Regions from separate parts of the Homo sapiens genome. Here region 2 is linked to region 1. The links are contacts of gene promoters, found by promoter capture Hi-C in blood cells and fetal thymus (Javierre and others, 2016). All regions are on one chromosome and are shown on one strand. The core of a region is centred on a gene start or on the middle of the fragment in contact, and the rest is flanking DNA. Distances in the headings are between cores, read along the strand shown. Region 1 holds the start of GNRH2 (gonadotropin releasing hormone 2). Region 2 overlaps DNAAF9 (dynein axonemal assembly factor 9).

Evidence for each region. The method cuts DNA at HindIII sites, captures the fragments that hold promoters and counts their contacts. A CHiCAGO score of 5 or more calls a contact.
Region 2: a fragment that was not itself captured here is called in contact with the fragment with the promoter of GNRH2 in region 1 in 1 of 17 cell types (M2 macrophages); the score reaches 5.4 in M2 macrophages.

The regions. Positions count from the first base shown.
Region 1 is chr20:3,040,768-3,046,764 of GRCh38, forward strand. It overlaps GNRH2 (gonadotropin releasing hormone 2), which reads left to right and starts at 2,855. Exons shown (of 4, transcript NM_178331.2): 1 at 2,855-2,898; 2 at 3,641-3,801; 3 at 3,933-4,069; 4 at 4,919-4,980. The coding sequence starts at 3,648. The coding sequence ends at 4,969. MRPS26 (mitochondrial ribosomal protein S26) reads left to right here and starts at 5,285. Exons shown (of 4, transcript NM_030811.4): 1 at 5,285-5,513; 2 at 5,606-5,752; 3 at 5,847-5,970. The coding sequence starts at 5,302. RefSeq lists an enhancer at 4,767-4,826 and a silencer at 4,927-5,796. The HindIII fragment of the contact is 14,485 bases long and covers 1,545-5,997 here.
Region 2 is chr20:3,273,004-3,278,942 of GRCh38, forward strand. DNAAF9 (dynein axonemal assembly factor 9) reads right to left here. Exons shown (of 37, transcript NM_001009984.3): 29 at 5,909-5,939. Among named protein-coding and RNA genes, the nearest start is that of SLC4A11, 37 kb to the left of the region's middle. The HindIII fragment of the contact is 1,057 bases long and covers 981-2,037 here.

The DNA of each region.
Region 1 (5,997 bases), core at 1,605-4,104:
GCCCTACATCCTGCCACACTGAGACCTCACTTCATTTGGGCGGGTCCCTCCTGGGTTGCAGTTTCCTTCATTGCTCCCCTGTCCCAAATACTCAAGTCTCTCTCATTAAAAATAAAGAGCAGGCCAGGTGCAGTGGCTCACACCTGTAATCCCACACTTTGGGAGGCCAAGGCGGGTGGATCACTTGAGCCCAGGATTCGAGACCAACCTGGGCAACATGACAAGATCCTGTCTCTACAAAAAATAACAAAAATCATCTGGGCATGGAGGCACACGCCTGTAGTCCCAGCTACTTGGGAGGCTGAGGTGGAAGGATCACCTGAGCCCATGAGGTGGAGGCTACAGTGAGCTGTGATCATGCCACTGCACTCCAGCCTGGGTCAAAGAGTGAGACCCTGTCTCAAAAAAAAAAAAAAATAGGCCGGGCACAGTGGCTAATGCCTATAATCCCAGCACTTTGGGAGGCCAAGGCGGACGGATCACCTGAGGTCAGGAGTTCGAGACCAGCCTGGCCAACATGGTGAAACCATCTCTACTAAAAATACAAAAATTAGCCGGGCGTGGTGGCACGTGCCTGTAATCCCAGCTACCGGGGAGGCTGAGGCAAGAGAATTGCTGGAACCTGGGAGGCAGAAACTGCAGTGAGCTGAGATCACGCCACTGCACTCCAGCCTGGATGACAGCGAGACTCCATCTCAAAAAAAAAAAAAGAAAAAGAAAAAGAATTAATTAATTAATTAAATAAAGAGCATGTCTCCCACCCCAGGCCTAAGTTCTTCCCTCTATGAGAGACTACTTGCAGAAACCTGTGTTCTCACTCTTCCCCCTTCCTCACTTCATTCCCACACATTTCTTTTCCATCCCTGCGCACCAAGGTCACCTTGGTGCTAAACACCAGGGACCCATGGTCTCTTCCCCTTTGTGTCACAGGCTGTCCTCTGCCTCTTATCCTCACCCTTTAGCTGCTCCTCCACTGTCTCCTCTCTCAGAGGTCAGGATTCTGGATCTGTCTCTGTGGACCCTCAGCTCTCCTCCAATCCCAAGTCCCCCGCATCCTGGTCGCATGTCAGGGTGGTCCAGAGATGCCTGCCTCCCACTGCCCACACCCAGGGGCCCGCCCTCCTTTCCTCTAACCTTCCCACATACTCTGGCCCCATGGATCCACGGCAGTTCCTGCTGGCCCTTCTCCATTTTGTTCCTTATGCTGCACCCCTCTGCTGCCACTCCCTGCGTCCGTGACTCCAGCTCACTCGTCTCTGTCCTTCACCCAGGCCGCCTGCTCAGGGTTTGTGCCTCTCTGTGCTCCTGCAGCACCTGAGTGTTTATTCACCTCTGAACCTCTGCTTTCCCACCTGAGTACACGCAGCTCCTGGCTGCAGTGACTTCATATCCTGAGGACTGGAGCTCCGTGGTGAACAGATGGCTTTCTATGTTCTAATGAGAGGGATACAAGAGTTCCACAGTTCTAGTCTGGAAAGGACCAAACATTTCTTAAAAGCTAAGTATGTTGCCGGAAAAAAAAGGGAGCAGAGCTTTCCCCAGGAAGCTTGGCTCTGGTTTAGATTTTTCAGGAAAAGCCGGAATCAAATTACAGAATAAATAAAGGCAACCATCCCCCTTTTAAAGGTACACCAGCCTTGGTGCATCTTTGAAGAAAGCATTCTGTAAACCCCAACCAGAACTAAACTAGTACGTCGAACTCAGATTCATTTTCACTAAACCACAAGCAAATGTTTCCCTAAAAATCACCCAGTTAACAAAGTCCGCATATTTAAGCCAAAACAATTTAACTGAACAAATGGGCCACACGTTGATTTCCGGTCCCTGCTAATAAGTCAGTCTGGAAGTTCACAGGTGTGCCCATCCTGCCTTGGCTGCTGAAGTCCAGGTGTCTAGGGCTGACTGATGCCCATTATGCCTCCCCTCCCCCATCTTTGTCACAGGATTTGACGCACCAGCTCTCCAAATGACCCTGGCCCTCCCATTTGCTGTTCAGCCCAAGTGCGGAGATTGGCTATGAACCCTGTAAACAGGCCTCTGACCCCCAGAGGCTGATGGCTGGCCAAGGAAAGCTGAGCTGCTGACGCAGACTGGGAAGCAAGAGCCCACTTCCAGCAGCCCAGGCTAGCTGTGTCCAAATCCATGACTGGGGAGGGGTTAGAGCCTTGAGGGACAAAATTATTCTACCTACCTAGGGAGACTGCACTGGCCCAACAGCTGGGCCCCATCTCATGGGCCCGCTTCTTCGCCAGGAGAGAAGCCACTCCGGGGTAGGTACTGCCCCACCCAAACCCAGCCATCTGGAGTGACCCAGCCCTGGTTCCCAGGTGTGTGGATGTGAATTGTCCCACCCAACCCACTCTACAGTGAGCAAACGGAAGCCCTCTGGGAGAGTGGTCACAGCCTCCCCTGTACCTCTGAACAGCCTGCCAGGCTCCCTACTCTTAGGCTTCCACTGTCCACCAGGGAAAGCCCTGAGCTGGGAGTTGGGGAGCCCCCAGGCATTGCCCCTGCCCAGGACACAATTCTCTTTTGGGATCAGGGAAGGCTGTGAGGGCTTTCTAGGTCTCAAGATCAGGAGCTTGAAGATGCAGCCTGGGAAGTGGGAAGGTGAGACCAGGACATAGGCCAGCCTAAAGCAAGAGTCCTGGGCCTGAAGGCTCCTGGGAAGGTGGTGGGGAGGGAGCATGTGTCGGTGGCCTCAGGGCAGCAGCTGCCTGGTGAATGTTCATGGACTGGATGCTCTGGGAAGCGGGTTGGGTGGTGAGCTTCTCTCTTCCCCTCTGAAGACGTCACTGGAGTCTGGGGGTGGAGCTGCCTGGTCTATAAATCCTGGGGCCATCAGGCTAGGGTCCTGCAGCTGCCTGAAGGAGCCATCTCATCCACAGCTCTTCCTTGGTGAGTGGGGAGCCTTCCCTAAGGGCTAGGACACCTGGACCAAGTTTCATCCTGGGCGTATGGTGTGCTGCTCCTCTTCCCCATTCCCAGGTGCCTCCACCCCTGAACCATGCCAGAGAAGTCCCCTTTTCCTCTCCTCTCCCCAACAGCTCTACCATCTATTCTTGTGCTTGTTGCCCCTGGCATGGGAGGGATAAGGGGTAGAAGCACTTGCCCCCATCAATACCACTCATCCATTCCACATCCCCAACTACTATGGAAGAGATACAGCAGGCCACGGAGAAAAGGGCAGAAGGCCTGCAACTCTGGTTCCCTAGCACTGGTGCTCCAAACACGCCTACATTGAGAACTCCCCTGACCATCCATCTATCCTCCCATCCATTGGCCTGAATTCAGGTCTCTGTTCCCCTCCAACTTTCTTCCACTTCTGGAAACTCCTTGAAGGAAAGATGGATGGACCTGGACAAGTGGGAGGGCCCTCAGAGCTGGCAAGGCAGGTAGCCTCTGTGCCCCAGGCTCAGGGAGAAGGCTCGTCCCCTGGAGCATCATCCCCTGCTGGGCCAGGATCCCCCAGGATCTGGACCCCTGTATGCTTGGGATGAGGAGCGGTGGCAGAGAGGGAAGGGCATAAGGAGATACCAAAGCTGCCCCTGAGATGCCAGTTTTCCAAAGTGGCCCTGGAGGAAGTAGGGGGATGTGGGGGTGAGGTAAGTCTCCTTGAATGCTGTACCCTGTCCATTAGAGCAGCCATGGCCAGCTCCAGGCGAGGCCTCCTGCTCCTGCTGCTGCTGACTGCCCACCTTGGACCCTCAGAGGCTCAGCACTGGTCCCATGGCTGGTACCCTGGAGGAAAGCGAGCCCTCAGCTCAGCCCAGGATCCCCAGAATGCCCTTAGGCCCCCAGGTGGGTGTCTCCCAGCCTCATGGGGAGGAAGAAAGTGATGGCCGGGGGCTCCCCCACCCTCCTGGAGCCTGAGGTCGGGGTAGGGAGGACAGCATCAGTTCCCTTCTAAGGAAGGGCCCTGGACACTGCAGCAGGCAGCCCAGTCCAGACTGCCCATGGCCTCCCAAGTGATGCCCTGGCTCCCCTGGACGACAGCATGCCCTGGGAGGGCAGGACCACGGCCCAGTGGTCCCTTCACAGGAAGCGACACCTGGCACGGACACTGCTGGTGAGTAGGGTGAGAGGTCCCCAGCATCAAGACCAGCCACTGGTCATCAGAGGCCATTGTGGCTTAGGGTTGGGTGCTGGGAGGGTGGGGAGAATGAAACACCACTGAGATGCCCCCTGCCACAGCACCCCCAGCCATTTCTCAGTGCCCCTACTGCACACAGCAGGGTGCTGTCTGCTATCCTTCCTATTTCCCAGGAGGATTCTAGACAATTTACAAAGCACTTGGGTTAAAGACCAAAGTCACTAGTAGACTAGAAGGAGATAATTGTTCTATAAGACAGTGGTGGCCATGGGATCCCACAGGCATCCTGACAAGCCAATGACTGTCTTGAGGTGGACAGACCCCAGGCCAGTGGAAAGAGGTGAGGGATGCAACCTCACTCAAACAGACAACAGGGCCAAGAGGACCAGGTGGTGACTGACATGTGCACTAGGAACATCTCAGGGACTGCAGAGCTCCCCAAGACCATAGCAGAAGACAGGCGTGGGGAAATGGTTTGCTACTGTTTTGCAAATCAAACATTTACAGTGCATCAGGAGAGCCCGGTAACTAAAGAAGAAAGTGGTTAGTTCCTATGAGGCAATGTCTTACCGCCTGATTTGTGTGTATGTGCTGAGGTTTCTATGCGTCAGGCTTGTTTAGGGTGGACAAGAGGGCATGCCCAAGGGAGCTGGAGATCCCCACACTAGCTGGATCCTCAGGCTTCTACGGGAGGCGGGGGGCGTCCTGCTGTGGGAGGCCACATGGGGACTGGGGGGGACGAGAGGGGAGAGAACCAGGAAGATGGCAGCTCGGCGGTTACGAGACCAGTGTCCTGAGACATGACCGCCACCTCTCCCTCCGCAGACCGCAGCCCGAGAGCCCCGCCCCGCCCCGCCATCCTCCAATAAAGTGTGAGGTTCTCCGAAGCTGTTGCGTCGAGTTCTGTCCTTCGTCCCCTCCCTGTCTTCCCCGCTGAGACCCTTCCCTGCGTGGGGGCTGGAGGGACGCGGGTCCGGCCCCGCGGGCGGGAGTAACTAAGGGATGGCCCCGGGCCCTGGCGGGAAGGCCGGGCCAGAGCCTGGGGGCGGGATGCGGACGTCCGCAGGGTCGCCGCTTCGGTTCCAGAGGCCACACGGCCGGGCGGGGCGTGAGGGACAGCCCGAGGACTACAGGTCCCAAGGTTCCCCGCGCCGCTTCCGGGGCACGGTGGCGTCCCGGCACCGCGGCCGCAGTGAGGAGACTCGGCCATGCTACGCGCGCTGAGCCGCCTGGGCGCGGGGACCCCGTGCAGGCCCCGGGCCCCTCTGGTGCTGCCAGCGCGCGGCCGCAAGACCCGCCACGACCCGCTGGCCAAATCCAAGATCGAGCGAGTGAACATGCCGCCCGCGGTGGACCCTGCGGAGTTCTTCGTGCTGATGGAGCGTTACCAGCACTACCGCCAGACCGTGCGCGCCCTCAGGTGTGCGGCCGGGGGGAGGTGGCCGCCCGCGCGCGCTGGTGACGGTGGGAGTGGGCGGAGAGGGTGCTGATTCCTGGCGCGTCTGCACCCAGGATGGAGTTCGTGTCCGAGGTGCAGAGGAAGGTGCACGAGGCCCGAGCCGGGGTTCTGGCGGAGCGCAAGGCCCTGAAGGACGCCGCCGAGCACCGCGAGCTGATGGCCTGGAACCAGGCGGAGAACCGGCGGCTGCACGAGCTGCGGTGCGTGGGGCGGGAGGCGGGGCGGGGCGGCGCGGCCTGGCCGGCCTGGGAGAAGCCCGGGCCCCGCTCAGCCTCGGCCCTTTGACCCTCACAGGATAGCGAGGCTGCGGCAGGAGGAGCGGGAGCAGGAGCAGCGGCAGGCGTTGGAGCAGGCCCGCAAGGCCGAAGAGGTGCAGGCCTGGGCGCAGCGCAAGGAGCGGGAAGTGCTGCAGCTGCAGGTGGGCAACGTCTCCGGAGGGTGGGAC
Region 2 (5,939 bases), core at 259-2,758, 230 kb after region 1:
ATTTTTTAGCAGAGATGGAGTTTCTCCATGTTGGTCAGGCTGGTCTCGAACTCCTGACCTCAGGTGATCCACCCGCCTCGGCCTCCCAAAGTGCCGTGATTACAGACGTGAGCCATCGCGCCCGGTGAGAGTAGGTTTATAAATGAATAGTTCTTAAGTGAATATCTCTAAATTATGGAGATTTCTGCTTTCCTAAGTGACCTTGTAACTGCAGAATCCTAAGTAATGAATATTCAGTAATGAACACTCTATACTGATACTATTTACTTCAGTCAAGTGTTAAGTTAAAAAAATTAGCTGTATTCAGTTATTGAGGGCGAAACTCAGAACATATAGAAAGTGTGTCAGGCTGTTTTGGGGTTGCTGTAAAGAAATACCTGAGGCTGACTAATTTATAAAGAACCTTTAGCTTAATTGGCTAAAGGTTCTGCAGGCTTTCCAGGAAGCGTGGCGCTGGCATCGGCTTCTGGGGAGGCCTCAGGAAGCTTAAGATCATGGTAGAAGGCCTGGGAGCCAGCATATCACAGTGGTGAGGGCAGGAGCAAGAAGGGGCGGGGGAGGTGCCACACTCCTTTAAACAGCCAGGTCTCCTGTGAACTCAAGAGTAAGAACTCACTCACTATCACAAGGACAGCACCAAGCCATTCATGAGGGATCTGCCCCCATGACCCAAACACCTCCCACTAGGCCCCACTTTCAACACTGGGGATTATGTTTCAACATGAGATTTGGAGGGGACAAACATCTAATTTATATCAGAAGTGTTCACAAAGAAAATAAAATAATTCCTTTCCTGTCCAGACACCTAAATTCCCTGCCCTGGAGGCAACTGCAGTTATCAGATTCTTACCTCTTCTTCCAGAAGATCTGCTGAGTATATACAAAAGTGTTGAGTATAATTTTTTCCACAAGTAGTGACACATTACACTGTTCTGCACCTTTTCCCCCCACTTACTCCCTTTACTTTTTAATTTTGGTAAAGCTTACATCTTCCTTCAAATCTTTCTTAACATTTTATCATCCTAGTCCTCCCCTCATGCCACCCTGCTCTCTCCCCTTCTCTGAACTAAAAAAAAAGAAAAAAAGTTCTTTTGAATAACACAGGTGGCACTTAAAACACAGGACTTATATTCTTTATTTTTATTTTTATTTTTTTTGAGACAGAGTCTCACTGGGTCACCCAGGCTGCAGTGTAGTGGTGTGATCTCGGCTGGTTGCAACCTCCATGTCCCGGGTTCAAGTGATTCTCCTGCCTCATCCTCCTGAGTAGCTGGAATTACAGGCGCACACCACTGCACCCGTCTAATTTTTGTATTTTTAGTAGAGATGGGGTTTCACCATGTTGGCCAGGCTGGTCTTAAACTCCTGACCTCAGGTGATCCACCTGCCTTGGCCTCCCAAAGTGCTGGGAATGCAGGTGTGAGCCACTGCGCCTGGCCTGGACTTAGATTATTTATCTTCTTCCTCTATGGGAAAAGCTACCATAATGTAAAGACTAAGGCATTTAGAGCCAGGTGAACCTGAGTTTGAATTTTGAGTTCCGCTAATTACTAATGGGTGATACTAGACAAATTGCTCTACTTTCTCTCTGAAACCAAATATCCTCCTCTGTAAGATGGGAACCGTAACACATCACTCTAGGTTATCAATAAAACCTAGGCTTATCATAGGGCCTACAGAGAGTAAGAATCCATGAAATACAATCTATCATTTCCACCACTACCACCATCAGCACTGTCAATTGAGCATCAGCCTGAGAATTAGACTTCTCCCTGTACATAGAGGGGCCTGTCAGTGGCTGTGGCATTGGGTCTTGGCCATATCAACCACTGGGAAACTAAGTCATACAATTTCCACAAGCCAAGGCAGCTACACTCGTGGTTTAGATGGGGGGCAAGGAATAGTTTGAAGGCAGATTCCAGGACCCCTGGTCCCCTGCCTCTAGTCTTTGGTACCTGTGTTCGCATGGCCATTTGGAAAGGTCACTCTGCAGTGCACTCTGGAGGCTGCAGATGAGGCAGCAAAGCCAGCCTGGAAAGCTTGATGCCAGAATCCCATGCCCTGGTGCAGCCACAGAAAGTAGGGCCTCTGGAAACTGAGTAAGGCAAAGTCAGGAGGCCAAGTCCAAAATGTGGCACAGTGGGGAGGCAAGCAGGATCTCAGAAGCCTCAGCACATTCTAGAGATGGCAGACATGGAAGCCATATCCTACAAAGGGCCTGCCAGATTCCCAGGGTGGAAGGCAAGAAGAGCTCTGGCGGGTCTGGCAGTGAAGAGCCAGCAAAGGTTGAGGGAAGATCTATAAATACCCTAGGACTCTGTTTGGTATCTTCTTGGGCAAAAGAAACCAAAGTGTCAGACTAGTGCAAATGTGGCCATATGAACGGTGGTGCACCAGGGTCACAAGCACAGGCCTGGCCTGCCCAAGAAAAGGCTGGGATCTGGGTCTCTGACAGACACAACTTGTACAAAGTCCTGTCTGCTGCACATGTACCATATGGACAAAGCTTGTGGGGTTGGGATTCTAGGTCAGGAACTGGGCACAGAAAAGGGGCTTTGCTTTATAGGGAAACAAGCAAGAGGATTATCCCCAGCATTCCTTAGGCCAGCTATGTAAACTGCCACCTGCCAAGAGGAAATGCCATCTGTGAGGCAGGTACAGCAGTTATCTGGAGCACAGGGTGAACAGGCCATAGTGAGCGGTTCCACCTTGTTTGGGCCAGGAGCTTCCTTCTGTTCTGTATCAAGGAGTGGACAGCCAGATTTGGCCAAGGTCTCACCAGTCTGGGCTGTGAGCGAGCAGACAGCCTGGCGTATCCTATTCCCAAGAGCAGAGAAACATCCCTATTGTCTGGCTGACCATCCCAGTCTGGGCTAAAGTATTCCAGAAGCCCAGCAGAAAACAAAGGTGACTTCTTCTATCTACAGATGCTTTTAAAAGCAGGCCATGACAGTAAAGTATCTCCACTTTGCTCTCACACCAGCATTATAATGAGTCTTACTTGCTGTTTAAGCACTGAGATTATTTCTTAGTCCTTTGATTTCTATAATACACATTGTCTTGGGGCTGCAACATAGTCCTTTTCTAACTGGAAAATAATCTCTTATGAATCGGGTAGCCTGACTCATGAACAGGAGCAAAGGGAGGAAATATGCTCCCTTAGGACATGAAGTATTTGTCTACTGCTGGCAGATCCCACCTCCAAGCCAGCTACCAAATCTCCTAGGAGAAAAGAAATACTTGCCTTTTATCTCCTCCCTCCCCAGACAGCCCATGCCCATGGCAAGCCTGGTCAGGCCAGTCCACAGGGTCCCATGGGCCCAGAAGCAAGGCAGTGTCACTCCATGAGCCCCTTGGAGGAGTTCCGAAAACAGCATATGTGGCCTGAAGGTGATCAGCCCACATCTGATCACACCCCTAGCTCTACACAAGCACAGAGTTTAACACACATTGTCTTTGCACAATGAGTTGGAAGGCAGTATAAATGAAACATGCCTACCAAATGCCAGAGAGAACAGTCTGTTTTGGCCTCAAAGGGTTCAGACTAAAAGGGGCTTTTCTCTTGTGAGACAAGCCCAGGGCTGCCCCTGATTCAATGATGAAAACAGAACACTTCCCCAAGGCTCTCTGCCAGGGAAGCCCCACCATCTGTGCTTGTTCCTCATGCAAAAAAGAAGAGGGACACTGAGGGAGAATGCCAAGGAGCTGAGGTGCACTAGGGTGCCAATCATCACACGGTGGACAAGGGGCTCTGAAAGGAAAAGAAGGCTCCAGCATTTACAAGAACAAGGCAGGCCTGAGGCTGGACAGGTCAGCAAGTCCTAGGCACACCATCTGATAGTCAATACTGCCCCCTAGGCAAACACTTCCTCAACTTCACCTGCTTCCAACTAAAGCTCTTCTCAAGGACACTGCTTCTCTGAGTCAATCTTCACTTGGGCTCTGGACCCTACCCCTTCCTTCTCAGGGGTCCCCTCTATCAAACCTAGTATCTCCTTGCAGCCCACAGGCTTTCTCAGCAGCAAATAAGGAGGAACTGATCATTAAGAAATGACAATTCTTGGAAGTATTCTCTAGCCATCTTCCTTTTTACAGCCCCAAGCACTCTAGAATATCATCTGCACCTGCTGGCTTCCAGTATCTCACTTGACCACTGGCCCACTTGGAGCTGGCTTCAGCCCTCACCTCTCCACTCAGATCCTCCTACTCAGGTCATCAGGGTCCTTCTCACTTACAGAGCCAGTGGGCTTTTCTCTGTTCTTCCCTCAAGGTCTCTGCAGCATTAGACATCGTGGATCTCTTTTTCTCCTTCCTCAATGTCTCAGGCAACACTCTTCCCTGCTTCTCTTTCGGTGTCCTGGAACCTCCACCCTCACCCCATCTCTAGCCTTCTGATCTTTTCAACTCTATATCTGGATACTGGCTGACTACAGTCCATGCCATTAACTTTGACCATGACTTCCAAATACGTATCTTAGGATGAGACAGCCCTCCTTGGTTATCTCCTGGACCTATGTTTTCTCCTGTGCTTTCTATTTGAAGGACAGGTACCACCAACCTTCCTAATCTCCTAAGCTAGAAACCTAGGAGTCATCCTAGATACCTCTTTTTCCAACACATGCCCCACATCTAGTCTGTCACCAGATCCTATTGACCCAACCTCCACAAAATCTCCTTAATCTACCTGGGGTGGATACTGTGGATGGACCTACCCAATCTCCATTTCATCCTGTTTCTGAGGTGCAGTGCCTAGAAAGTAACAGGGACCTCTGAAAGCTGGACCTGAGACTACCTGGTACAGCAGCCCAACATACACATTCCTCCCTCCAGGGACCAGCCTCCTGCCCTGGGCAGCATGAGCTCAGCTGTTTCCCAAGACAACAACTCTGGTATGCTCTGTTGTCTCCGCTCCCTGCGGACTGGCAATACGATCAGCAGGATGAAACTGTGCTGGGGACACTGAGTTGTTTTCTTCCATCTGATTTCTGCTTGCTGGACTAGCTCAGGAAGCCCAGACCCCAGGCATGTCTCCTGATAACAATGAGCATTTCATCACCACTGCAGGGAATTCAGAATTTATTCTGGACCTCCAAACATCACAGATAATATGACTAGAAAGTGCTGCTTCCAGGGTTGTCAGGTAGTAGGGCACTGCAAGGTTGAATGCAACCTGCAGGATGGGTGAATTTTTCTCAATGTTATCAAGGAAATGCGGAAAATTCCAGGGTGCATAGGGGTGGGAGGTATTAAGAAAGACAGGTCCCGCTGGGCCAAACTCAGCACTCTTGGGGCAGAAGTGAATCAAGATCTTGCTGATCCAGAGGCTAGGAATACCTACTCAGTCCACTAGTATTAGCTGGAATGCCAGGTGGACTTAAGCCCAGCTCAAGGAGAGGTATTACTGTGGCAATTTGTTGCCATAAGAGACAAGCTCAGGCCAGGCGCCGTGGCTCATGCCTGTAATCCCAGCACTTTGGGAGGCCGAGGTGGGCGGACTACGAGGTCAGGAGTTCAAGACCAGCCTGGCCAACATGGTGAAACCCCATCTCTACTAAAAATACAAAAATTAGCTGGGTGTGGTGGTACATGCTTGTAATCCCAGCTACTTGGGAGGCTGAGGTAGGAGAATCAGTTGAACCTGGGAGGCAGAGGTTGCAGTGAGCCGAGACCACGCTATTGCACTCCAATCTGGGCGACAGAGTAAGACTCCGTCTCAAAAAAAAGAGACAAGCTCTTGGAAGAAATGTGCCTATCAAATATGGTAAAAGTAAAGGTGTCAAAGTTTTTTCTGACCAATTTTGTTTGCTTTAGATTTCAGAATGGTAGGTAAGAGCACGAAGAAAAGTCTATTGCTGAATTCTACTGAACTTGCAAGGCATGCAGGCTGAAAATAAAGTATATTACTTACCTTGTGAACACTGGTCAAGACATTTAGGAAA